Regions from separate parts of the Homo sapiens genome. Here all the other regions are linked to region 2. The links are contacts of gene promoters, found by promoter capture Hi-C in blood cells and fetal thymus (Javierre and others, 2016). All regions are on one chromosome and are shown on one strand. Each heading gives the region's core, a stretch centred on a gene start or on the middle of the fragment in contact. The rest is flanking DNA. Distances are from core to core; before and after follow the strand shown. Region 1 holds the start of PRDM13 (PR/SET domain 13). Region 2 holds the start of MANEA (mannosidase endo-alpha). Region 3 overlaps PNISR (PNN interacting serine and arginine rich protein). Region 4 holds the start of POU3F2 (POU class 3 homeobox 2).

Region 1 (2,952 bases), core at 453-2,952, 4.0 Mb before region 2:
CTCCCACTTCCCTGCGCCCCACCTTGACGACACGGGGAGGGGAGAGGGGTGTTGAGAGCATCCTCCCTGAGTGCTTAGGCACATCTTGTACCAAGTTGTCCCCTACCCCAGCTCTCCCATTTGCAGTTCTGAGAGCAGCCGTAACACCACGGTAGAGACATTTCTAGGTCAGTCCCAGGGCCCAGAGCGTACCCCCGACAAACAAACAAAAAAATTATCTCATGCCTCCTGTATTCTGTGTGCATCGCACCTAGTTGCCTGTGAGCCCTGCAGCTAAAGTCTCGGAACAAAGCCCAAGCGGGGAAAAGCTTGCCCGCAGCTGGCAGGCCATTTAAAAGCAATTAAAACGCGTTTAAAGAGGAATGCGCGGTGGGCACCAAACCCCGCTTTAGACTGTAGTGGGGGGCGTGATTGCAGGAGGAGCGAGGTGCAAGTCCCGCTGGCTGGACACCGGAGCTTTTTACTAGAAAGCTCCAAGCAAGGCAAGCTAAAGCCAAGGAAGCCAAAGTCCTTTCTTCTACCCCAGACTTCTGCCTTCATTTCCCGGTCGCTGTTTGCCGACCTTTGGCTCCTGGGACGCCCCCAAAGCGGGCGAGTGCTATAAGTCTCTCTGGTCAGGGGTCGCGACGGTGTGTGGAGTGTGGGAGTCAAAGCTAGTGGTTTGGCCCTGGCGCCTCCCGGTTGGGCCTCTGGACTCTCAGAGCCCCGCTGCAGACGCTCTGACCCTGTGCCCCGCGCGAATGGGCGCGCCTCGCCCTTGGAGCCCGCGTCAGAGCCAGTACCTTGCTCATCCTCTCTCCATATGCCGCATACCCACAAGCCGACATCGGCAAGGGAAAAAAAAATATCTGAGGAGGTTCTAGGAACTGAGAGCCTCCCAAAGATTTTTTTTTTCAGGAAAAAAAATTACTTTAAGGCGAAATTAGGCCTCAAATTAACATATTGAAGGGCAGAAGGGAAGAAAGGGTCTCGATGCCCTGAGCCCCCAGAAAGAGGGTGCTTTTGCAGAGAGAGCTGCGGACAGCGTGCGGGGGTGGGCTTCTGGCTTCTGACTGAGGAGACCCGAGAGCGCAGGGGAAAACACAAGCTGCGAATGGTCCCGGCACCTACAGCGCTCAGTGCACCCCACCCAGGGCTGTCGCCTCTCGGCCACATCCTCTCCTCTCAGCCCGACCCCGTCCAGCTCTCACAGTTAAAGAGGCTACTTGCTCAGAATAATAGGAGTCCCCTTCCACCCGGCAGAATTAGCAGGTAACGACTCAATCACTCCCTTCCTCCACTTTCTCTCGTACCCCTTTCCCGGGTCAGGGCACTGAGAGGCGAATGGCAGTGGGCAGAGGTCTGAATGGTCAATACCTTTTTCTTAGGCCCGGGCTCCCTGCGGTCTGACAGGTACTTGCCCAGCTTGAAGGTACCAGGCACCGGTCCGAGGCGCAAGCCGGCCGGGATGCAGCAGTCGGCACTCACGCTGGTGGCTGGCGCTCTGGCGGCTCCGTGCATTGTTGCCGCCGCCACCAGGCAGGCGCTCGGGTGCTCCAGGTCCTTGGAAGGGCGCGAGTGACAGAGCTGGAGCTGCGCGCTAGCCAGAGAGCCGCGCCCCGACGTGCGTCCTCCGCCCGCGGAGTGACGCGGGCGGGCATGCACTGCGCCTTTTCAATCGGGGCGGGAGCCTTTTGGCACCGCTAGCGCAAGGGCGCGGAGTTTGGTGAGAGAGTTGCGCTGCGAAGCAGCTGCAGAGTCCCACCCGAGAGGGTCACATGGAGTGGTTCCCTCAGCCCCCTGCATAATCGAGGCCGCTGAATGGCTAGCACACAATGGTCCAGGCGACCTTCCCATTCCTAAAAATCCAATTTGTCAAGGGCGAAGAAAAGGCACTGGTGAATCAAAGGTCCGGCGGGACCATTAATCCTCAGCATGGGGTATTGTCCTCCAGACAGTTACGATATTTTAAGTGACAAATCCACTGTATAATTTCTCCATAAATTTTACTTCCTTTTATTGTTCCCCGACAAACCAGTTTTGGGAAATAAGTGACTACTTTAAGTCTACTTGGCTGATTCCTTTGAGCCTTGATCTACTTCAAAGATTTTTAATTCTCTCCCCTTGGCTTTATTGTAAAGGAGATTAAACAAAGAGATGGAGACTGTTTGGAGGACTTGTTAACTACTATTGATTTCTGGCGTGTGCCATACAGAAATTAGGCAGGTACTTGATGGGAAAACACCAGAAAATACCTACACTTTTTAAATAACAACCATATTACCATTTCAGGGGATTGGGTTCAGGCCAGTCGTCTATTCAGAACCGCTTTAATTCTCACTTCTGTCCCATTTCGTCCGAAAATATGATGAAGCCTCCAGACCAAGTTGAGAAGGGGAGGTCAACTGCTCATCACTTTTCTCGGGCACACCCCGGGCCTGCACTTTCTCTGGAGAATGGGAAACAGCCCCAGAACCAACAGTTTCGAATGGGGATCCTGCGCCCCGGTCCGCAGCCCAGGGTTGAAGAGGAAGAAGTTCTACCAGTGGGTTATTGATCACGTCCCCTAGAAGATGTCCTTGGACTAACTTCCCTAAAACCAGCAACCTGGACTTTTCTATTAAAAAAAAAACAGTAAACAAAAACGAAAATCACCGCAATCTGTTAAAGGTTGTAGAGAAGAGGGGCGAGGTGGGCGTTTGGGACAACTCTTTCTTACACCTACTTTGTGAACTAACAAGACGTTGTACTTCAGAGTTAAACCGGAGAGCTACCCGTTTTCTTTTAGGGAAGCCTCCAATTGGCGTGAGAACATTTATTTTCATAAATAGTAGCCAAGTAATCAAGTTCATCAGATATTTGTGATTTCTGCCGGCACCTGCCGCGTGCTGCTAGTTCTGAGCACAGCTCCCCAAATCCTATGCAGCCAGCACCGGAGCCCGATGCAGTTCTTCCAAGAGAGGCCTGAGTGGT
Region 2 (2,986 bases), core at 388-2,887:
GTCTCGATCTCTTGACCTCATGATCCACCCACTTCGGCCTCCCAAAGTGCTGGGATTACAGGCGTGAGGCACCGCGCCAGGCCGCAGAATTTTTTTTAACCTCATTTTACAAATGATGAAGCTGAGCAGTTGGTAACTTTTTCAAAAATCTCTGGGCCAGCAAATGGCCAAGAAACCAATCTAAGGTTAATCACCTAGCAAGGAGCAGATCGAGTCTGGCTCAAGAACTCAAGTTCTTGTCCATGCTATTCTGCCTTCCTTTAAGGTATTAGACAAATCAAATTTAGAGGATACACCAGTTATTTTTGTGACACAAGATGAAAGCTGCTGCTATATGGTTATGTTTTCAATTAAGGATTATGTACCTAATAAACAATGATTAACTGTTACCTACTCCATAAACTGTGCCCAAACTTCATCTAAAGACAGCTTATTCTATTTTATGATCATACATTCACTATTCGTCACACGAATAACAGCAACAGCTCTGGAAATGGTGTTTTCATTGTTGTGATTTTTTGTTTTGGGGGGTGTTTTTCTGCATTGAGCCTGAAAATCCACAAATTCACAGCACTCATGTTTTTTTCAGGTGTGATACACCTGAAATAGATGTATTGTCATGAAAGTGATTTGCAAACAACGTGATACAGTATCACCAATATCTAGGTTTTACTTTATATTTTTGTTTCAAACTACTGCCTCAATACTTTAACGTGAACAGCCTATTCCAGTCCCATTTTTCTTATTTTCAAGTTCTTAATCAACATTATCCCCCCCTTGTTGTTGTTTTATAGCACTTCCACATTTTCTCCTAACACTTATCCGTAGGGTCTTACAACAACAAAACCAAACAGTTATACCTGCCTGTACTTCAAGTTGCTTCTTTGGAAAAAGGAACAACAAAAACACTAATCCAGCACTGTTGCATCCCGACTTAGCAAAGGCTAAGAGTCTAAGATGACAGTGCCAAACACGTTAACAGGTGAACTGAAAAACCATCTCTAGCGGCCTCGCCATCGGGCGGTCTCCTCCCGATGCCCAGAGGCGACAGCTACCTTTCCGTTGCACCCAGAGCCCAGCAGGCCTCGATCCTTCTACTCTCCCGGTCGGCTCAAGGCCCAGAGGCAGTCTGGGGGCACAAGGAGAAGGTGCTGAAAAAGGCTTCCATCCGACCCGAAATTTCCACCTTGTCGGGGAGACAAGGAAAATCCGAGGCGACAGGAGGTACCGTTTCAAAGAGGAGGCGGCGACGAGGCCAGTGAGGTGGGGATAAAGCAGTGTAAAAGGCAGTAAAACTAACGCAGACTAAAACAGGCCTAAGAGTGACAGCCTAGGTTAATCGAGGGGGCTACAGGCTCGCCGCTGGGCGCCACCAGCGCCTGCCAGAGGGGCGCCGGGTCAAAGGGCGCCCGGAGGAAAGCGGCCACCAGATTGGCTGGCGGGCGAGCGCGCAGGCGCCCGCGGTGGACCTCGTGCCTGCCGCCGCTGCTGGCGCCGCCGCCTCCAAGAGGTCTGACTCCTGCAGCTACTCACCAGGGTCGGGTAATTCACTTCTTGCAAGGACTCGGCCAGAGGAGAGGTTAAGACCGCGAACATAGAGCTGACTGCCGCCGCGCCCCGAGCCCAGACAGCCCCTCCTCCCCGAAGGCGCGCGCACAGCGTTCCGGGCGCTTTCAGGGGCGGGACGGGTGGGGGCGGGGTCACGGAGCGGGCGGGGCTCGGGGTCTTCCGGAGCCTCCGGTCGCGGGTCTAAGAGGACTAGGGCGGGAGCGGCGCGGAAGAAAGAGAGGACTGCGTTTTGGGGCGTTCTGTCAGAGGGGAAGGACGTGTGGATTGGAGTCAGACTGCACTCCCGCCCTATTTCTGCAAGTAGAACTCACTGCCTTTAGAAACGGTCTTCTGAGGCTCTGTTGGGAGGCTCTAACTGTATTACAGAGGACACATTTTTGTTTGTTTTTATGTGAAACATTCAGAAGTTGCTTGCATCAAGTGCTTTACAAGTACACTGGTTTTCAAACTTTTAAAGTTGAGGAACTGTTTTGATTTTTGTAAAAATAGAACTTTACTTGGAAGCCCAAGGTAGGCAGATGGAGATGGCGTTTTTAATTTGCGAATGTATTCTATAAAATCACATCTGTACTGAAGTACTAGAAATAATTGAGGATAAGTCAGATGTGAAGAGCAAGAACTTTTGAAATAGGATTACAACTGAAGGTTTCCATCTTACATTAGCTTCAGAAAACAAGAAAATGCTATCTTTTGTTTGGTTACATAGTAACAGGAAGTCCTTATTCAAGCTAGAACTTGCTGATGTGAACAGTTTCATAAGGGCTCTCCTTAAAAAGATTTTGTACACCAATTTTAATTGGGAAATATACATATGAGTATATCTCATGTGCATATCTTAAAGAAGAATGAAAAATGCCCAGGTACCCACTACAGAGCTTAAGAAAAAAAAAATGCCAGTATTTTTGGAGTCTTCTAGAAAGAAGACTCTCTAAAAACATCTCCTTCCTTCCGTTCACCATTATGCTGAATTTTATATTACTCATTCCGTTGTATTTCTGAAAATAGTTACATATGTACGATTCCCTAAAAATACTATTTTCCTAGTTTTATATTTCATATGTGAATCATTCTTCATTTTTCCCCTTTTTTCACTAATTTAGGTTTTGAGAGGTTTTGAGATTCGTCTGTATACAAGTCCATTTCCCATAAACTAGACTGGCACATCGTTACCCTTATGCTATTGTTAGACTTTTTAAGTTTTTGCTGATAAGAGCATCTGATTGCTCTTTTAATTTGCATTTTCCCTTTTGCTAAAGCCTGTTCTTAATTTTATCTCATTTTTTATTAAATTGCTTGCTTTTGAAAATTATTTTGTAGATAATATTTATTTTTTCTAGTTTAATTCTCTCTTGTAAGTTACATGTGTTGCAAATGTCTTCTCTTAGTTTATGGACTGTCTTTCCAGTTTTTATGATGT
Region 3 (2,700 bases), core at 43-2,542, 3.8 Mb before region 2:
CCTTTTTCTGTTCCAGGATGCCAGCTAGGATATCACATTACATTTAGTTGTTGTATATTCTTAGGCTGTATATTCTTGGCTGTGACAGTTTCTCAGGCTTAACTAGTTTTTGATGACTGTTAAGGGCTGACTTGTGCCCCTCTAAAATTCGTATCTTGAAGTCCTAACCTCAGTACCCCAGAACGTGACTGTATTTGGAGAGAGGGTCTTTAAAGAAGATGAGGTCACTAGGGTGGACCTTAGCCCAATATATTAATAACTGCTGTCCTTATAAGAAGAGAGTAGGATACAGAGGGATGATCATGTGAAGACATAGGGAGAAGACAACCATCCACAAGCCAAGGAGAGAGGCCTTAGAATGAAATCAACCCCATAGAGCTTACACTATACGCCTCCAGAACAGTGAGGAAATAAATTTCTGTTGCTTAAGCCACCCAGTCTTTGGTACTTTGTTATGGCAAGCATACCAAACTAATACAGTGACCTTGACATTTTTTGAGGAGTATGGTCAGGTATATTGTAGGGTGCCCTGCTATTGGAATTTGCCAGACGATTTTCTCATGATTAAAATGGCCTTACGGACTATATCAGGGGAAGATCACAGAGGTAAGATGCCCTTTTCAACACATGCTATCAAGGATACATACTATCAAGGTGACTTATCACATTATTACTGACCTTGATCATCCTTCTGGAGTAGCGTTTGTTAGATTTATCCACTGTAAAGTTACTTCCCCCACCCCTTTTTATACTGTTCTCTTTGGAAGGAAGTCACTTTGCAGAGCCCACGCTTACTGAATGGACAGTTGTGCTCTTCCTCAGTTAGGGTGGAATATTTACATAATTTATTTGGAATTCTCTGTGGGAGATTTGTGTCTTCCCTCACATTTATTTGTTAGTTTATTTTATCATATCCTTATGGGCTTGTGGATGTTTATTACATAACTTATATTATAATCCAGTACTTCTTTATTTTGTTGCTCAAATTGTACCAGCTTTGGCCATTGGCAGCTCTTCGAGTTGTCTACTGTTCTCCTTTGACATGTTCCTATCAATTTTTTTTTTTTTAGCACTTTATTGCTTCCTGGCAGTATACATGCCCCAGACTCATCTTTTATATTTCCTGTCGCAGTCCTAGAGTCAGCTATTTCTTTAAAGATCTCTGATTCCTTTTATTGAAGAATGGTATTAAAACCAAGTTCTCGTGCCTAGGTGTGCTTGTTGCTACTAGGGTGTCATTTTGGGCGCTCTCGCTACATTTATTTTTAAATTATTATTGGGGGGGTATTTATAACCGACTCTCCAATTCTCCAGTTTTTTTTTTTTTTTTTTTTTTTGAGACAGAGTGTCACTCTGTTTCCCAGACCGGAGTGCAGTGGTGGCACAATCTTGGCTCATTGCAACCCCTGCCTCCCGGGTTCAAGTGATTCTCCTGCCTCAGCCTGCTAAGTAGCTGGGACTACAGGTATATGCCACCATGCCCAGCTAATTTCTGTATTTTCAGTAGAGTGGAGGTTTCGCCATGTTGGCCAGGCTGGTCTCGAATTCCTGGCCTCAAGTGATGAACCCACCTTGGCCTGCCAAAGTGCTGGGTTTACAGGCATGAGCCGCCATGCTTGTCCTCCACTTTTAAAATAGTCTTTTGAGCTACAAGCTGCAAGTATTTCAGTATATACTAAAATGCATGTCACATAAAGTAGCAAAATTTCTGTTTTCCGTATTTCGAATGATTACAAGATTAATTTTTACCAGTGCCATTTCCACCTAATCTGAATTAAACAAATAAATTCTTTTTTGACTTTGAGGTCAGTCAACTCATGTAAGACTGAAATGTCAGGGGTGAAGAGGATTGTTGTATTTTCTGGCTTCTCAGCTTTGTGGTTGATTTGAGAAATATTTCATCCTATGCATCAAATGATAGATGTGTTTCTGTAGCTCTTTGATTTTGTAGTTGATGCTCAAGGACTTTAAAATACCACATTTTAATTCTCATCCATCTCTGTCACAGTCTCTGAGTGACTTTTGTAAATATTAATGATTGTCATTTTGGCCACACGGGGTGGCTCATGCCTGTAGTCCCAGCACTTTGGGAGGCTGAGGAGGATGGATCATTGAGGCCAGAAGTTTGAGGATAGCCTGGGCAACATGGTGAAACTCCATCCCTACTAAAAAATACAAACATTATCCTCGCGCGGTGGCATGCACCTGTAGTCCCAGCTACTCGGGAGGCTGAGGCATGAGAATTGCTTGAACCTGGGAGGTGGAGGTTGCCGTAAGCCGAGATCACACTGCTGCATTCCAGCCTGGGCGACAGAGTGAGAATTTCTCAATAATAAATAAATGATTGTCATTTAAACAAGTTGTTTTAGGACCTCAAAGCGATGAAGTTCTAATATAGATACATTTAAGAAAAGGATAAAATAGATGATGGCCATTTCTGGTTGTATTAGTTTTCTAGGGATATTGTAGCAAATTACCACAAACTGGCTGATTTCAAACAACAGAAATTTATTCTTCCACAGTTCTGAAGGCTAACAGTGTAAAATTGAGGTTTTGGTAGGGCATGCTCTCTAATGGCTTTGTAGGGGATTCTTGTCTCTTCCTAGCTTTTGGTAGTTCTTGTCAATCCTTGATGTTCCTTGGCTTATAGAGCCATCTACTCCCAATCTGTACCACTGTGGTCATGTTACATTCTCCCTG
Region 4 (2,724 bases), core at 87-2,586, 3.3 Mb before region 2:
CTATGCTCGTGGGGCTGCCCGAGGACGAGTCCGCCTCCTCCAACCACTTGTTCAACAAAGGCTTCAGCTTGCACATGTTCTTGAAGCTCAGCTGCAGGGCCTCAAACCTGCAGATGGTGGTCTGCGAGAACACGTTGCCATACAGGGTGCCCAGAGCCAGCCCCACGTCCGCTTGGGTAAATCCCAGTTTGATCCGCCGCTGCTTGAACTGCTTGGCGAACTGCTCCAGGTCGTCCGAGGTCGGCGTGTCCTCGTCCGAGTGCGGGTCGTGGTGCGCGCCTGGGTGGCCAGGCGGACCCTGCGGGGGCGGCGGGGGCGGCGGCTGCTGGTGTGGGTGCGAGTGCGGGTGCGGGTGGTGGTCGGCATGGTGTGGCTCGTCGTGCGCGTCCCGCAGGCCGTGGTGGTGCAGACCGGCCGGCTGCCCGCCGGCGCCCAGCATGCCGTTCACCGTGAAGCTGGGCTGCGAGTAGAGCAAGCCGCCGTTGGACGCTCCCATGGAGGGTGGGAGGTGCGCTGCAGCCGCCGCGCTCCGCCATGCCCCGGGTCCCGGGTGGTGGTTAGCGGCGTGGTGCACCAGATGCGGCGGCCGCTGTTGCTGCTGCTGCTGCTGCTGTTGCTGCTGTTGCTGCTGCTGTTGCTGTTGCTGCTGCTGATGCTGCTGCTGCAGGGCGCCTGGCCCGTGCAGCTCGTCTCCGCGGCCGCCCTGCTGCACCACCACCGAGGGCTTGATGTCCGGCTGGCCCAGGGGGCTGGTGGACCACGGGGAGCCGTCGCCGCCGCCCCCGCCGCCGCCCCCGCCCCCCCCGCCGCCGCCACCGCCCCCGCCGCCGCCGCCGTGGGACAGCGCGGTGATCCACTGGTGAGCGTGGCTGAGCGGGTGTCCGTTGCTCTGCAGAGCGCCGTAGTCGCCCTGCACCAGGCTCTGCGCTTCGCGGTAGCCCCCCGCGCCCTGCTGCATGCCGCCGGGCGGCTCGGCGTGCACGATGGAGGCGCTGGAGGTGAGCAGGCTGTAGTGGTTAGACGCTGCGGTCGCCATGACTCTCGGAGCCGGACTGAGCGCTCCGGTTAAAGGAGCCGCGCATTTGACAGTTACTTTTTCGCCTCGGGCTCCCTCTCCTCGCTCGCTCTTTCTGTCTCCTCTCTCTCCCACAGCGGGCAGCTCCGACGCCCGCTCCGACGCCTTCTGTTGCTGCTCCTGCTATTACTGCTGCTGCTGCCGCCGCCGCCGCCTCCCGCCCGCCCTCGCTCTCTTTCTCCTCCTCTCCCTCCTTCTCGCTCTCGCTCACTCTCTGACTAGCTCGGCGCTCCCCCCTCTCCCTGCTCTCTCCAGCTCTCTCCCGCTCTCTTGGCAGCGCCGGCTCGCAGCGGCACGCGCCTGGGCCCCGCCCCCTCCGCCCCCTCCCATTGGCTCCGCGCCCTTTGATTTACGTGGATACCGCTAGCAACCTCCCAGGCCGGCGCCACTGATTGGCGCAGAGCTACTCCCTCCCCCTCCCCCGGGCTCGGAGTCCTCCTAGCCCTCCTCCCCGTCCCCTTCGCCTCCCGATTCAGATTCTCTCAGTTCTCACCCCCCCGCTTCTTCCTCACCCGGGGCCTCCTCCGCCCTCTCTCGGATGGGCCCCGCCCCCCATCTGTCTCCCAGGCAGAGAAGACCGGCAGGGGGGCGGTCCCGGTGCTCTTATCGGCCACAGACACTTGGAAGACTTGGATTGGGGTGGGGGGCGGGAGGCAGTGGTGTCCACTTTCGTTTCCCAATAGGGCTTTAAGATGGGGAAACGGAGGGGGTAAGGGAAAAGCTGGGTCGCACCGAGCCAGCGGGAGTCGGATTTTTATTCACCTAGGGACACACACACAGTGTGTATCTCTTAAACCTAGAGCCAAGAGCCAGACCTGTTCCCCTGTTCAACTCTCCTTGCATCCCACGGTTAGAATTTCAGTGCACAAGTGTCTCTTGCTCCAGGGTGTGCGGACACTTCGGCCCAAAGCTCTTCTCCTTCCCCTCTACCCCGCGGCTAGCACAGGCTCTCTTCCTTTTAGGTTCCAGGCCCAATTGTCTCCCACTCCCTTGGGGAAAGAACCCCGAGAGAGGCAGGCTCAGCCCGCACCGCGGCTTGTAAGTCATTCCCATCAAGGCTCGGAGTTGCTTGCTCTGACAGCGTAGCGGTCTGAACTGAAAACCAAACAAAACTCTAAAAGTCTCTCCGTCAGATTCACACGCCGGCGCGTGCAGTTTTTGGTTTAGAAAACTAGAAGCCTGCGTGGGCTCCGTCTTGTGCGAGGCTGCCGGAGTGCTGGCGAGGGGTGTGCGGCCTTGTAGGGGCGGCGCAGTCGCCAAAGGCCGCTCCGGGAAGCCGCGCGGAGGGCCTGCGTGCGCGATTCCCCGTGCTCCTACCGCTGGTAGGTGCAACTTTTCCGTTAGCCCCTTGGGAAGGAGGAAGAGTGTGTGAAGCAAATGGGCTGATGCCAGGGGAACCTTCCTAATCAGTAACTTCGGTGGGCGCTAGCGGGTGGGGTTAGTCTATGTCTTTGGCGCTCCCTGGCCAAGCTCCCAGCTCAGCTTTCAGCAGTGAACTCCAGAGCAAGACTATGGGACCATGCACCCGCAGCGCCGCTCTACGGAGCGCGGGCGCGTCGCGCCATCAGTTCTTTAGCCGCCCAGAGCAGGTGCCGCCTGCGAGTTTCCGAGCCTGCAAGCCCGGTAGCTAGAACTTGGGCGCGGACCCA

Evidence for each region. Contacts are between HindIII fragments. The CHiCAGO score rates a contact against its expected background, and 5 or more counts as called.
Region 1: the fragment with the promoter of PRDM13 here is called in contact with the fragment with the promoter of MANEA in region 2 in 1 of 17 cell types (non-activated CD4 T cells); the score reaches 6.6 in non-activated CD4 T cells.
Region 3: a fragment that was not itself captured here is called in contact with the fragment with the promoter of MANEA in region 2 in 1 of 17 cell types (fetal thymus); the score reaches 5.2 in fetal thymus.
Region 4: a contact is called between the fragment with the promoter of POU3F2 here and the fragment with the promoter of MANEA in region 2, in 3 of 17 cell types (total B cells, non-activated CD4 T cells and naive CD8 T cells). The highest score is 11.5, in total B cells.

What each region holds. Positions count from the first base shown.
Region 1 is chr6:99,605,583-99,608,534 of GRCh38, reverse strand. PRDM13 (PR/SET domain 13) reads right to left here and starts at 1,702. Exons shown (of 4, transcript NM_021620.4): 1 at 1,357-1,702. The coding sequence starts at 1,500. The HindIII fragment of the contact is 6,161 bases long and covers 311-2,952 here.
Region 2 is chr6:95,576,186-95,579,171 of GRCh38, reverse strand. It overlaps MANEA (mannosidase endo-alpha), which reads right to left and starts at 1,637. Exons shown (of 5, transcript NM_024641.4): 1 at 1,534-1,637. It overlaps MANEA-DT (MANEA divergent transcript), which reads left to right and starts at 1,721. Exons shown (of 3, transcript NR_104136.1): 1 at 1,721-2,079. RefSeq lists enhancers at 1,038-1,137, 601-1,541 and silencers at 1,338-1,397, 1,678-1,767, 1,818-1,897. The HindIII fragment of the contact is 3,606 bases long and covers 1-2,986 here.
Region 3 is chr6:99,421,514-99,424,213 of GRCh38, reverse strand. The region is part of intron 1 of PNISR (PNN interacting serine and arginine rich protein); the gene reads left to right. Among named protein-coding and RNA genes, the nearest start is that of PNISR-AS1, 2.0 kb to the left of the region's middle. The HindIII fragment of the contact is 3,652 bases long and covers 1-2,700 here.
Region 4 is chr6:98,833,186-98,835,909 of GRCh38, reverse strand. POU3F2 (POU class 3 homeobox 2) reads right to left here and starts at 1,336. Exons shown (of 1, transcript NM_005604.4): 1 at 1-1,336. The coding sequence starts at 1,036. RefSeq lists enhancers at 1-22, 23-619, 618-687 and a silencer at 1,326-1,395. The HindIII fragment of the contact is 14,703 bases long and covers 1-2,724 here.